5 separate regions of the Homo sapiens genome follow, and regions 1, 2, 3 and 5 are each linked to region 4. The links are contacts of gene promoters, found by promoter capture Hi-C in blood cells and fetal thymus (Javierre and others, 2016). All regions are on one chromosome and are shown on one strand. Each heading gives the region's core, a stretch centred on a gene start or on the middle of the fragment in contact. The rest is flanking DNA. Distances are from core to core; before and after follow the strand shown. Region 1 overlaps MAN2B2 (mannosidase alpha class 2B member 2). Region 2 has its middle 12 kb from the start of KIAA0232. Region 3 overlaps KIAA0232. Region 4 holds the start of LINC02482 (long intergenic non-protein coding RNA 2482). Region 5 overlaps LOC105374365 (a long non-coding RNA gene).

Region 1 (2,700 bases), core at 128-2,627, 85 kb before region 4:
CCATGTTGGCCAGGCTGGTCTCGAACTCCTGTCCTCAAGCGATCCGCCCACCTCAGCCTCCCAAAGTGCTGGTATTACAGGCGGGAGCCACTGGTGCCCAGCTTCATCCTGCATTTCTTTTAACCCTCACAGCAACCTTATGGGACGGTGTCATCATTTGCTAGGGCTGCCATAACAAAGGACCACAGACTGGTGACTCAAGCAATAGAAACATATTGTCCCATGGTTCTGGAGGCTGGAAGTCCAGGGTCAAGGTGTCAGCAGGGCCACGCTCCCTCTGAAGGTGTGAGGGAAGGGGCTGCTCCAGGCCTCTCTCCTTGGCTTGTGGATGCCCCGCTTCTTTCAGTGCCCCCGTATCATCTTCCCTGGGTGCATGTTTGTGTCTCAATTTTCCTTTTTTCTGAGGACACCCATCCTATTGTATTAGGGCCCACCCTAATGACCTCATTTTAACTTGATTACTTCTGTAAAGACCCCATTTCCAGTGGGCACAGTGGCTCACGCCTGTAATCCCAGCCCTTTGGGAGGTGGGCAGATCACATGAAGTCAAGAGTTCGAAACCAGCCTGGCCAACATGGCAAAACCCCGTCTCTACTAAAAATACAAAAATTAGCCGGGCGTGGTAGCAAGTGGCTGAAATCCCAGCTACTCAGGAGGCTGAGGCAGGACAATCGCTTGAACCAGGGAGGTGAAGGTTTCAGTGAGCTGAGATCGTGACACTGCACTCCTGGGTGACAGAGTGAGACTCTGTAAAAAATAAAAAATAAAAAAATAAACTGCACACTTGGTGAGAAGTAATGAGCTTCCTGCACCTGGGGGCATTCAAGCAGAGTTAGAAGGTGCTAATTCTACAGGGTTTGGCAGAGAAAAGCCTGCATCGAGGAGTGGGTGGGGTGAATGAGCACTCCTTCCGGAGGGCAAATCCCACAACCAGTCTTAGACGGAAACGGCAGGGGAGAGCTCATCCTTGAACCACTGAGGGAGGGCCAAGGTGAGGGCAGGCGGGAGACACCCAGATGGGGCTGAGGGAAGTGGAGCTGGGGCAGCCATGTGGCCCCTCCAGCCTCATTCTTCTCCTCGGTTTGCAGGGGCTGCAGTTCGTGTGGCGAGGGTCCCCATCCCTCTCAGAGCGGCAGGAAATCTTCACGCACATCATGGACCAGTACAGCTACTGCACCCCGTCCCACATCCCTTTCTCCAACAGGTACGTGCCCTTCCGCAGTGCCTTTGGGATCTCAGACAGCAGGGTCTGCCCAGCCCCTGCAGCTGTTCTGCAGTTTTGTTTTTGTTTATTGGTTTTAAGACAAGAGCTTCTGCTCTGTTGCCCAGGCCGGAGTGCAGTAGCGCAATCTTGGCTCACTGCAACCTCCGCCTCCTGGGTTCAAGCGATTCTTCTGCCTTAGCCTCCTGAGTAGCTAGGATTATAGGCACCCACCACCACACCCAGCTAATTTTTGTCTTTTTAGTAGAGAGGGAGTTTCACCATGTTATCTAGGCTGGTCTCAAACTCCTGACCTGAGATGATCCACCTGCCTTGGCCTCCCAAAGTGCTAGGATTATAGGCATGAGCCGCCGCGCCCAGCCCTATTCTGCAGTTTTTGACAAGAGCTCCTTAAGCACATGGTGTCCCATTCTTCAGCCTCCCCAGCAGAGTGGGTGGGGTTATCAACCCCATTTTACAGATGTGGAAACTGAGGTTCAGAGAGGGTAAGTGACCAGATCAGGGTCACCCAGCTGGTAAGTAGGGGAGGCAGGATTTGACTCCAGTTCTGTGTGACTCTGAATTGCTTCTTGTTATGAGTCCCTGTCCCAAAAGAGGATTGTTTAAAGGATGAGATCTTGGCTGGGTGCGGTGCCTCATGCCTGTAATCCCAGCACTTTGGGAGGCTGAGGCAGGACAATCACTTGAGTCCAGGAGTTCAAAACCAGCCTGGGCTTCCTAGTGAGAACCTATCTCTACAAAAACTTAAAAATTAGCTGGGTGCATGCAGTCCTAGATGCTTAGGAGGTTGAGGCAGAAGGGTCGCCTGAATCCAGGAGTTGGAGGCTACAGTGAGCTCTGATGGTACCACTGCACTCCAGCCTGGGCAACAGAGTGAGAACCTGTCTCTATTTAAAATAAAAAAAAAAATAGGCCGGGCACAGTAGCTCATGCCTGTAATCCCAGCGCTTTGGGAAGCCAAGGCAGGTGGATCACTTCAGGTCAGGAATTTGAGACCAGCCTGGCCAACATGGCAAAACCCCGTCTCTACTGAAAATACAAAAAAAGAAAAAAAAAATTAGCTGGGTGTTGTGGCGCATCCCTGTAATCCCAACTACTTGGGAGGCTGAGGCAGGAGAATCACTTGAACCCGGGAGGCACAGGTTGCAGTAAGCCAATATTGCACCACTTGCACTCCAGCCTGGGCCACAGAGCAAGACTCTGTCTCAATCAATCAATCAATCAATCAATGATGAGGTCTTTACATCAGTGTTCCCAAGAACCTCCTTCCTGGCCATGACAGGTCCCCTTCTGCTCTCGCCTCGCCTGTCCGTACCTGCCAGGTGAGGAAGTTGAATGTGCTGACTTCCAGGAGCCATCCATCGGCACCCCATCCCGTCCACGGTCCTCCAGGGCACTGTCCAGTGTCTCTCTAACACCCTCCAAGCTCACCTGCCCTCAACCCCAGTGATCTCCCTGCCTCTATCCCGCCTGGGCCT
Region 2 (2,700 bases), core at 77-2,576, 97 kb after region 4:
ACTACCCAGCATGGGCAAAAGCAGCTGCACCCAGTATGGACCAATAGGGGCACACCCATTTCGAGGCACTAAATGTGGTGCTGATAACAGAGTCCCCAGGCCTGGCTTGGCCCAAGGATGGAGCACCCCAACACCCCAGCTGTCTCAGGGGCCCACTGCTCAGCCTGGCTCACTCCCCGAGGGTGGGTGGTTTCTAAGTGCAGCTGGTGGGCTTGTGTGTGATGGTGGACGGATCCTGGAGTTTAGCAGGGTGACTGTGGCCAAGCTGTTTCTCTCTGGGTCTGTTCCTTAGTGTTATTGATGTTGTTGACAGCTGACCGGTCCTGCACCGTACTAATCATTTTACATGGAGAAGCTCCATGTAAAGCTTCTAGGTTGTAATTCTCATCACAACCCCGTGAGGTAGTTCATATTATCACCTCCATTTTACAGATAAGGAAACTGAGGACCAGAGAGCTCAAACTGATGTGCCTTAGGTCACACAGCTAGTGATCAATTGAGCCAGGCCTTGAACCCAGACAGTCTGGCTCCAGGACAAGCCCGCACAATATCTATACAGAAACAGGGCCTGGTGCATTTTAGGGCTGCTGTGATTTTGTCCTTATCTGCAGGTGCTTTTACCTCTGATTTCATTCGCCCTATGACCTGTATGGTAGGTTTTATTACCTCGGTTTTATCACACTTTCATCCTCCTCCAGGGTAGAATCAGCTTACAGATGAGGTAACAGGCTCAGAGGGGTTAAGCAACTTCTCAGGTGTCCCACAGCTGGTACGTGTGACAACTCGAATTCAAAGAAGTCTCCTGACTCTCACTGCGGAGCCTCCCATTCAAGAGGGACCTCAAGGTGTCACAGAATTTAGACATACTGAACGTCCTTACTTTATGAGTCCAGATTCAAATCAGTAATAACGCAATGTCAGAGGAGTTGAAGAATTCTTTCATGTATTTGTCCATCCTTGTTCCACACCTTGTCCTAGGATCCTTGGGGTTGCAGTGGTGGGGATGGAACCATAGAGATGCACAAGCCATAGATTTAGGAACTGGAATTTCAGCAATGCTTTCGGGTCTTCTGACAAGGTGCAGGCAGGCCACCTTTCTTGTATGGCAGGGCAGGACAGGGCTGGCCTGTGTTCCAGTTCTGGCTGTGTCACTCCCATGCTGTGTGACTTAGGACAAGGCTCTGCTCTTTCTGTACATTGGGTCACCAAGCAGGGATGAGCTGCCTGGTGTGGTGACTCCAGGTGGCTCCAGGAGGAAGGCAGGGGCCCTCTCATGTGAGTAGCCACATTCCTCCCTATGGCTTGTCCACAAAATAAGGGGACCTCACGGAGACAGCTCTGTGCACCTGTCATGCTGTATCGTTGGAGGGATTGGAGCAAGGCTGCAGCTTCCTTGGGGTTGGATCATCACAGGGGCCATAGTCATGAAGCCGATTGGCTGTGAACTTGGGCTGTGGGGTCCAAAGACCCAGGGTTAACTCCTGGCTCTGCCACCAGCCAGCTGTGTGACCTTAGCCAAGTTACTTAGCCTCTCTGAGCCTCAATTGCCTCATTCATAAAGTGGGGAACCTAGCACAGTGCCGAGCAGCTGCTCATTTACTGCAGGCACAGTCACTGAAGCTGAGAATTATGAAGCTGATGAGGATAGAGGGTCCAGCATAGAAAGTGCCACCTACAAGCACCTACTATGTGCCAAGACAAGGAGACAAGAAGGTGACGTGATTTACTTCTGGGCATACAGCAAGAACATGGCAAAGCTGGACCTGAGCATTGGGATGCATCAGCGCCTGCGGTGCCTGGTGGCTCTGAGCCTGTAGCAAGCTCCCTGGCTGAGGTCTGGGGCTGTGCCCTAGAGGAGGAGCCCCTACGGCCACTCCTGCTGGCCTGTGGCTGGGGCAGCATCAGCAGATGTCTTCAGTCCATCTGGCAGGTCTCACTTGCTTGGTCTGAGAACCTGCCCCACAGGCCTGAGCTCTGCAGGGAAAAGAAATAAAAATAGCCAGGTCTGAGAGGGCAGTGGCTGGGCCGTGGGCAGCAATGCGTGCCTTTCCCATGACTCCTGCTCTGCAGAGGAGAGTCCTTCCCTGAGCCGTCCTGTGTGCCAGGCCCTGGGCTGGGTGCCCGGGAAGCGAAGTTGTGGCAGGCAAAGCTGCTCCCCAGAGGAGCCCATAGCTTGGTGGGTAGAACATATTTGTCCAGTGCGGCACCTTGGGGTGGGGGCCCGAAAGGGCTAGCAGTGGAGCATTGCAAGAGAGACCCCCTCACCCACCTGGGGGAACACAAGGTAAGCTTCCAGAAAGAGGACACACTGGAGAAAACAGTTGTTAAGCAGAGTGGCGGGGGGCTTTCCAGGCAGTGGGACCAGCATTTGCAAAGGCAGAGAGGTGTGACAAGCATGTCCCATTGAGAGAAGTGTAAGTACCTGGGTACATCTGGAGGCTGGGGTGTCTATAGGGACAGGATGGAGGGTTGCGCTAGGAAAGCAGGGAGCCTGGGACTGTGGGGACGATGGGGAGCCAAGGGAGGTTATAAAGCAGGGGGTCACGATCTCTCCTTCTCAAGATCCATAGCCTTAATCCCATCAGCAAAGTCCCTTTTGCCAGGTAAGGTAACATAGTCGCTGGTTCCAGGGATTAGGAGGTACACTTCTTTGGGGGGTCATATTCTGCAGACCCTGTCTCTGTAATAAACTGCACTGAA
Region 3 (2,700 bases), core at 59-2,558, 120 kb after region 4:
GGGGTAGAGGAGAGCAAGTGAAAGGCCTTGGTTCTGCATCCATGATGAAGGTACACCTAAGAGGGTTTGCTGATGGACGAGATGTGGGATGTGCGAGGAGGAGCCATCATAGCGTGGGGTTGCCCTTGACTGACATGGGGAAGGTCATGGCAAGGGTAATGGTGGTGAGAATTCAGGGTTGTGTTGTTTGGCTTTAGACATGTTATAAGTTTGAGATGCCAGTCAGATATCTCCTTGTCTAGTAGCTTGGTAGCATTAGAGTTCTGGAATTAAAGAGAAAGAAGCAGGGTAGAGGGAAAGGATGGAGCAGTCTCTGCATAGGTGGTATTTATAATCATGGGACTAGAAGAGGTAAGCCAGATTGCGCAGTTAAATAAGGCAGCCACAAGCCACATGTTTTGTTTTGTTTTGTTTTTGAGATGGAGTCTCACTCTGTCGCCCAGGCTGGAGTGCAATTGCATGATCTCGGCTTACTGCAAGCTCCGCCTTCCGGGTTCATGCCATTCTCTTGCCTCAGCCTCCTGAGCAGCTAGGACTACAGGCACCCACCACCACGCCTAGCTAATTTTTTTGTATTTTTTAGTAGAGACAGGGTTTCATCGTGCTAGCCAGGATGATCTCGATCTCCTGACCTTGTGATCCGCCTGCTTCAGCCTCCCAAAGTACTGGGATCACAGGCGTGAGCCACCGCGCCCGGCCCACATGTGGCTTTTGAACTTTGCATGCAGCTAATCTGAATTGAGATGCGCTGTGTCAATTATGTACCAGATGCCAAAGACAGTGTGAAAAATTACAATGTAACATATATCATTAATTTTTACCTTCATTATATTTGGAGTGATATTATTTTGGATATACTGGGTTAAATCAAACATATTAAAGTTAATTTCACCTGTTTCTTTTTTAATATGGCTACTAGAAATATATTTATTTATTTTTTGAGCTAGGACATCACTGTCACCTAGGCTGGAGTGCGGTGGTACATTCACAGCTTCTTGCAGCCTTGGTCTCCCAGGCTCAAGTAGTCCTCCCATTTCAGCCTCCTGAGTAGCTGGGACTATAGGCATGCGCCACTGCATCCAGCTAATTTACTTTTTTTGTAGAGACTGGGTCTCACTATGTTGCCCAGGCTGAGCTCAAACTCCTGCTCTCATGCAGTCCGCTTGCCTTGGCCTCCGCAAGTGCTGGGGTTACAGGAATGAACCACTGCACTTGGCCTAGAAAATTTTAATTACATATATGACTGGCATTATTTTGCTCTTGAAGGCACTGGTGGAGGAAGCGAATGGAAATAGAGAAGTCCAAGGGCAGAGCCTGGAAAGCTGGGAAGAGGAGGAGCAGCCAGCGGAGGAGCCAGCGAGGGTGTGGACTGGGTGAGGAGAGGATGATGAGAGGTGTGGTTTGTGCGTAAGTGAGCTGCACTAAAATTTGATTAGAACTTGAGTAAAAGGAAAGTATCAGAAACTAGGTCTAATTAATATGTAATATGTGGAATTGGTTATTCGTAGAAGTGAACGAGTCCTGGAGATGGTCTGTAGGATCAGGATAGGATTGAGATCCTTCCCTATATTGTTCTTTTTTTTTTTGGAGACAGAGTCTTGTTCTGTCACCCAGGTTGGAGTGCAGTGGCACGATCTCAGCTCACTGCAGCCTCTGCCTCCTGGGTTCAAGCGATTCTTATGTCTCAGCCTCCCAAGTCACTGGGACTACAGGTGTGTGCCACCACCCCTGGCTAATTTTTGTATTTTTAATAGAGACAGCATTTTGCCATGTTGACCAGGCTGGCCTCAAACTCCTGACCTCAGGTGATCTGCCTGCCTTGGCCTCCCAAAGTGCTGGGATTGCAGGCGTGAGCCACCACACCCGACCATATTGTTCTTTTTTAAGTGAGTTTCATGCCACCTGTTTAAAGAAAGCTCTAACATAGCCTATCTGAGGAATCAATCATGATAGTAGAAAAGGAAGCACACATTTATAAGATTTGACACAGTTAGTGCAAGAAGGTGACTCTTATGGCCCTTAAAAGTTTGGTCACACGGTTTTCTTTCAGCTTGTAATCTTCACTTAGTAAAACTACCATAAGAATATCTTACCTTCCTTTTGCTCTTTCTGAGCTCGTAGGGTGTCTTTGAGAATGTTCAAGTAGGCTCCTTGAGTGGCCTTAGCTACCGTGATGGGAGGGCTTCGTTTCCATTCTTGGTTTTCTGGTTTATATGTTGGTCACTTGGTTATGTTAGTCAGCATCCTTTGGCACTGCCTTCTGTCCTGATCATCTCATAGGAACAGACTTTGGGACATTTACTGACAACAGTCAGTTGGAGAGCCTTCCTCATGCAGCACGTCGACTTCTTTTTAATATGTTGGTAGCTATAACAGTGTAGTATCAGGCAGATTGTTTTTTCTTTAGACATTATACTTTTTTCCTCTGTATTTTATTATTTCATTTCCCAAAAAACACACTTGCACATTTAAGAGCAGTGTTTTAACAGTTTTTTCCAAAGCCATGAGATAGAAACTGTCATGGAAACTGAAGCTCCTCTGACTGGAACTTACTTAGGCCTTGCCAGGGTGGGCAAAAGATGACGTTGAAAAAGATCAGGTAGCACCCTGCATTTTGCCATTGGCTAAAGTGGGGTCAGAGCTGGTTGCCATTTTCTCTCTGTCTTGAGGTTCAGGCCTGTCATCTTCTCAAAATGCCTC
Region 4 (2,723 bases), core at 224-2,723:
TTTTTTCCCTTGTTGCCCAGGCTGGTATGGAACTCCTGAGCTCAAGCGATCCTCTCACCTCAGCCTCCCAAAGTGCTGGGATTATAGGCGTGAGCCACACGCCCGGCCTGGGTGTTTATGATTTAGAATGTTGGTGAGAGGTGACAGTGTGCTGGCAGTCCTCACAGCCCTCGCTCACTCTCGGTGCCTCCTCTGCCTGGGCTCCCACTTTGGCAGCACTTGAGGAGCCCTTCAGCCCACTGCTGCACTGTGGAGGCCCCTTTCTGGGCTGGCCAAGGCCAGAGCCGGCTCTCTCAGCTTGCAGGGAGGTGTGGAGGGAGAGGCGCGAGCGGGCACCGGGGCTGCACACGGCGCTTGCGGGCCAGCTGGAGTTCAGGGTGGGCGTGGGCTTGGTGGGCCCCGCACTCGGAGCAGCCGGCTGGCCCTGCCAGCCCCCGGCAATGAGGGGCTTAGCACCCGGGCCAGCGGCTGCGGAGGGTGTACTGGGTCCCTCAGCAGTGCCAGCCCACCGGCGCTGTGCTCGATTTCTCACCGGGCCTTAGCTGCCTTTCCGAGGGGCAGGGCTCGGGACCTGCAGCCCGCCATGCCTGAGCCTCCCACCCCCTCCATGGGCTCCTGTGCTGCCCGAGCCTCCTCGACGAGCACCACCCCCTGCTCCACGGCGCCCAGTCCCATCACCACCCAAGGGCTGAGGAGTGTGGGCGCACGGTGCCGTTCTCGCAGGCAGCTCCACCTGCAGCCCTGGTGTGGGATCCACTTGGTGAAGCCAGCTGGGCTCCTGAGTCTGGTGGGGATGTGGAGAACCTTTATGTCTAGCTCAGGGATTGTAAATACACCAATCAGCACCGTGTGTCTAGCTCAGGGTTTGTGAATATACCAATCGACTCTGCTGGGGCCTTGGAGAACCTTTGTGTCTAGCTCAGGGATTGTAAACGCACCAATCAGCACCCTGTCAAAACAGACCACTCGGCTCTACCAATCAGCAGGATGTGGGTGGGGCCAGATAAGACAATAAAAGCAGGCTGCCGGAGCCAGCAGTGGCAACCGGCTCAGGTCCCCTTCTATTGTGGAAGCTTTGTTCTTTCTCTCTTTGCAATAAATCCTGCTGCTGCTCACTCTTTGGGTCCACACTGCCTTTATGAGCCGTAACAGGTCTGCAGTTTCACTCCTGAGCCGGCGAGACCACGAACCCACCAGAAGGAAAAAACTCCGAACACATCCGAACATCAGAAGGAACAAACTCCAGACGCGCCACTTTAAGAGCTGTAACACTCACCGCGAGGGTCCGTGGCTTCATTCTTGAAGTCAGTGAGACCAAGAACCCACCAATTCCGGACACATTGGGAACTTAGAGCAGTGCTTGGGACATGGTTATCAGCGTCAGATATTTCCTTAAACTAGCGTGAAGTCGACTTTAACCTTCCAGCAGTGTGAGTGAGGGCCCTGACCCTAGAATCAACGCCCAAAGAGCTGTGGCGCTACAGCGGGCGGGGACATGGGGTGCGCATGCGTGCGGGGGGGTACGCGTGCGTGCAAGTGCGCGTGCGCGCGCAGGACCGCTGAGGCGGGAGCCCCGAATGCGGTTCTCGCTTGCTGCGTGGCGGTAAAGGACCGCAGGTGTCGTAAAAGGGCCGCAGTGGCAGCGTCCTGGCCGACGGCTAGTAGCCCATTTTGGATACCGTCCTCGCTGCGGAAAGTTGGGGCAACCTGTTGCTAGTCTGGTCGTTGGTGACAGCGAGGCTTCCGCGCTCGCTGCTGGTGAGCAGCCCCGGCGTGCCCCGCGGGCTGGAAGAGGCGGCGGCGTGATGCGGCCCGTGGACGCGGACGAGGCGCGGGAGCCCCGCGAGGAGCCGGGCAGCCCGCTGAGCCCCGCGCCCCGCGCCGGCCGCGAGAACCTGGCCTCCCTGGAGCGCGAGCGCGCCCGGGCGCACTGGCGGGCCCGCAGGAAGCTGCTGGAGATCCAGAGCCTGCTCGACGCCATCAAGAGTGAGGTGGAGGCAGAGGAGCGGGGCGCCCGGGCCCCAGCACCCCGCCCGCGTGCGGAGGCTGAGGAGCGGGTGGCTCGGCTGTGCGCCGAAGCAGAGAGGAAGGCTGCGGAGGCGGCGCGGATGGGCAGGCGGATCGTGGAGCTGCACCAGCGGATCGCCGGCTGCGAGTGCTGCTGAGCCGGCGAGGCCGCGCGGGTCTGGAGCGGAGCGCGGCGGGGAGTGTCCCGCGTGGAAGGCGCTGGGTAGGCAGGGAGGGGAGCGCAGAGCCGTGCCACGCTCTCCGCGGAGTTGGTTTCATTCTTTTTTCATAGGTAATTAGAGAAAATAATTTGATATGTTGTTGTAAAGAGTCATGACCACTGGAAGTATTTTCAGGACGTAGACCTGGTGGGTCACTACGTGGGGGGAGAGAGGTGTGAAGCGGAGGTACATGCTGGAAACGTGTGAATGTTGTTACGAGATTGGAGCGTTTGCGATGACCTTCCTGCAGGTGGAAGCATTGTGCACAGGTGGTTGGGTTTGTTTGACTCCCGGATATGAGAATATCAAGCTCAAAATTTATGTTGTGATGATGAATTTCTCCCACTTGTACTTTAGGTGGCCAACTGACGAACTGTGTTCACCTGATAAGGAGTCGTGGCTGCTTGGACAGGCTCAAACCAAGAGAGCCTTTCGTTTTGTCTCCCCTGTTTTTCTGCCTGCGTTTTCTCCACATTAGCCACTCAATTTCCAGTA
Region 5 (2,700 bases), core at 179-2,678, 100 kb before region 4:
CCAGGTAGCTCAGGGATGGGGCTGTCCACCATAGGCCAGGGTGGGTGGTGGGAGGTGCCGTTACAGAACCAGGTTTGCTGAGAGAGCTGGGAATAAGAGGATCCAGAAATAAGGGGCTAGGAGCCTGCACCAAACCACTGGAAGCAAGGTCAGTGCAATCACTTTAACAAGCACCAAGGCTGGAACACAGTGAGGTCCACGGCGAGCCATGGAGATGCTTGATAGAAAACGGCACCTGGCCGGGTGTGGTGGCTCATGCCTATAATCCTAGCACTTTGAAAGTCTGAGGCAGGTAGATCACCTGAGGTCAGGAGTTCAAGACCAACCTGGCCGACATGGTGAAACCCCATCTCTACTTAAAAAAAAAAAAAAATTAGCCAGGCCGTGGTGGCTGGCTCCTGTAATCCCAGCTACTCGGGAGGCTGAGGCAGGAGAATTGCTTGAACACAGGAGGTGGAGGTTGCAGTGAGCCATGATCATGCCATTGCACTCCAGCCTGGGCAACAAGAGTAAAACTCCAAAAAAAAGAAAGAAGAAAGAGAGAAAGAGAGGAAAGAAAGAAAGAAAGAAAGAGAGAGAGAGAGAGAGAGAGAGAAAGAAAGAAAGAAAGAAAGAAAGAAAGAAAGGAAGAGAGAGAGAGAGAAAGAAAGAAAGAAAGAGAGAGAGAAAGAAAGAAAAGAAAAGAAGGAAGGAAGGAAAGAAGGAAGGAAGGAAGAAAGAAAAAGAAAGGAGGGAGGGAGGGAGGGAAGGAAGGAAGGAAGGAGATGGAAGGAAGGAGAAGGAAGAAAGGAAGGAGAAAGATAGAAAGAAAGAAAGCGAAAGAAAGGAAGGAAGGAGATGGAGGAAGGAAGGGAGGAAGAAAAGAGAGAGAGGAAGGAAGGAGAAAGAGAGACGAAAGAAAGGGAGGGAGGGAAGGGAAGGGAAGGAAGGAAGGAATGAGATGGAAGGAAGGAAAGAGAGAAAGGAAGGAAGGAGAAAGGAGAGAAAGAAAGAAAAAGAAGGAAAGAAAGAAAGAAAGAAAGAAAGAAAGAAAGAAAGAAAGAAAGAAAAAGAAAGAAAGAAGGAAGGAAAGAAAGAAAGAAAGAGGCAAGATAGATGGATGGCTGACACAGGTGAGACTTGGCCCATCCTCTCTGGACAAATCAAGGCAGATGGGGTTAGGAAGTTGAGGGTAGCCACCCAAAGATAAATCCTGATCCCTTGCCCAGTGTCCAGACCTGAGCCAGTTTTCAAGTCCAGATCCCATCCACTGAAAGGAAAAGCGTGTTTCCAGGAAGAAGGACTCTGCAACATCGTAACAAAGGCCTATGGGAATCCCCTACTCCTTCCCCAACAGGACTGATGCTCATTGACTCAGGTAACCAGACACTAGGGAAAAATACCCAAATATTTCAAGAAATGTGGCTGAAAGCAGCAATAGACGTTTATGATCATCCCGGTGTCTGCAGGTGAAGAATCCAGGGTGGCTTCGCTGTGTGTTGTGCCTTGTGGGCCTCCCTGAGGTTGCAGTCAGGATGTCCTCTGGAATGGCTGGGCCTGGGCTGGAGGGCCTGCTTCCAAGGCACTCACACCCGGGCTGGCAAGACAGTGCCGGCTGTTGGTGGGAGGCCTCTGTTCCTCTGTAGATGGGCCTCTCCACAGATGGCTTGAGAGTCCTCATGACATGGTGGCCGGCTTGCTCCAGTATTAGAGCCCCAAGCGAGGGTGTAACATCACATCAGGCCAAGGGCTCCACTTCACAGCAAAAGAGGTGCAACCGCAGGCACACCCATGGTGTCTAGTGGTCCTATTATGTGCTGTACAACCCAGAGGCTGCTGGCTGATGGGGAAATGGAGTGGCCAGTTGAAGGCTCAGCCACAGCACCAGCTTGGAGGTGCCACCTGTGAAGCAAGGGCACCATCCTCCAGGGTGTATGTACATCCCAAGTCAATGACCAGTACACGATGTCCCCAGTGGGTAAAATACCTGGGCCTAAGAACCAAAGAATGGAAGCAGGAATAGCCTAATTTAGCATCACTCTCAGTGACCTACTTGGAGAATATGTGCTTCCTGTCCACACAACTACAGATTCTGTAGGTTCAGAGGTTCTGGTTTCCAAAGGGGAATGCTTCCACCAAGCGACACCAGTCACGCCAGGCTACTCATGTCAAGACACCAGTAGGCAGGGGAAGAGTCACCCATCGAGCAGGGGCAGTTGACCTGAACCATCAGAGGAGGTAGGGTTGCTGTCACACAATGGAAGCAGAGAAGACTGTGTGCCACCCACATGGGTGTCCCTCAGGACTCTTTCACCTGATGTAGTCAGCAAATAGGCAAGTGAGCAGCTATGGCTCAAGAAGGGAATGGTCACCAGGGGCTCATCCTCGTTGGTGAGGATCTGGGGCAACCCACCAGGTAAGCTATCTAGTCCAGCATGGGTCTAGCTGAGGGTGAAAGGGATCTGAATGAATAATCCAGGAGGGGGTTGTGAGTATCACCTTCAAGCCTGAGACTAGCTGCAGCAAGAGCTCACGCAAGAGCCTTGAGGAAAGTACAAATGAAACCCTACACAGCTGTGATACAGTGGGCAGGAGAGAAAATGACATGAGGTCTCACATGTTGTTGTAGTCAGATGGGGGGCTGGAGCTGAAACAGCATGGTGATCTTGAGCTGCTCCCTGTGGTCTGCCCCATGTGGGCTGGTTGGGCTTCCTCACAGCA

The links. The method cuts DNA at HindIII sites, captures the fragments that hold promoters and counts their contacts. A CHiCAGO score of 5 or more calls a contact.
Region 1: a fragment that was not itself captured here is called in contact with the fragment with the promoter of LINC02482 in region 4 in 1 of 17 cell types (total B cells); the score reaches 5.1 in total B cells.
Region 2: a contact is called between a fragment that was not itself captured here and the fragment with the promoter of LINC02482 in region 4, in 5 of 17 cell types (naive CD4 T cells, naive CD8 T cells, neutrophils and 2 more). The highest score is 8.5, in naive CD4 T cells.
Region 3: a fragment that was not itself captured here is called in contact with the fragment with the promoter of LINC02482 in region 4 in 8 of 17 cell types (naive CD4 T cells, total CD8 T cells, neutrophils and 5 more); the score reaches 9.2 in naive CD4 T cells.
Region 5: a contact is called between a fragment that was not itself captured here and the fragment with the promoter of LINC02482 in region 4, in 1 of 17 cell types (neutrophils). The highest score is 6.4, in neutrophils.

The regions. Positions count from the first base shown.
Region 1 is chr4:6,587,957-6,590,656 of GRCh38, forward strand. MAN2B2 (mannosidase alpha class 2B member 2) reads left to right here. Exons shown (of 19, transcript NM_015274.3): 5 at 1,089-1,204. Among named protein-coding and RNA genes, the nearest start is that of MAN2B2, 14 kb to the left of the region's middle. The HindIII fragment of the contact is 9,387 bases long and covers 1-2,700 here.
Region 2 is chr4:6,769,415-6,772,114 of GRCh38, forward strand. No RefSeq gene overlaps it. Among named protein-coding and RNA genes, the nearest start is that of KIAA0232, 12 kb to the right of the region's middle. The HindIII fragment of the contact is 1,922 bases long and covers 366-2,287 here.
Region 3 is chr4:6,794,673-6,797,372 of GRCh38, forward strand. All of the region lies in intron 1 of KIAA0232, which reads left to right. Among named protein-coding and RNA genes, the nearest start is that of KIAA0232, 13 kb to the left of the region's middle. The HindIII fragment of the contact is 5,038 bases long and covers 1-2,700 here.
Region 4 is chr4:6,672,408-6,675,130 of GRCh38, forward strand. LINC02482 (long intergenic non-protein coding RNA 2482) reads right to left here and starts at 1,474. Exons shown (of 2, transcript NR_134665.1): 1 at 1,277-1,474. It overlaps MRFAP1L2 (Morf4 family associated protein 1 like 2), which reads left to right and starts at 1,668. Exons shown (of 1, transcript NM_138699.3): 1 at 1,668-2,723. The coding sequence starts at 1,806. The coding sequence ends at 2,165. RefSeq lists an enhancer at 662-1,270 and a silencer at 1,743-1,972. The HindIII fragment of the contact is 2,330 bases long and covers 1,072-2,723 here.
Region 5 is chr4:6,569,122-6,571,821 of GRCh38, forward strand. LOC105374365 (a long non-coding RNA gene) reads left to right here. Exons shown (of 3, transcript XR_925098.3): 1 at 1-4. Among named protein-coding and RNA genes, the nearest start is that of MAN2B2, 4.7 kb to the right of the region's middle. The HindIII fragment of the contact is 5,024 bases long and covers 1-2,700 here.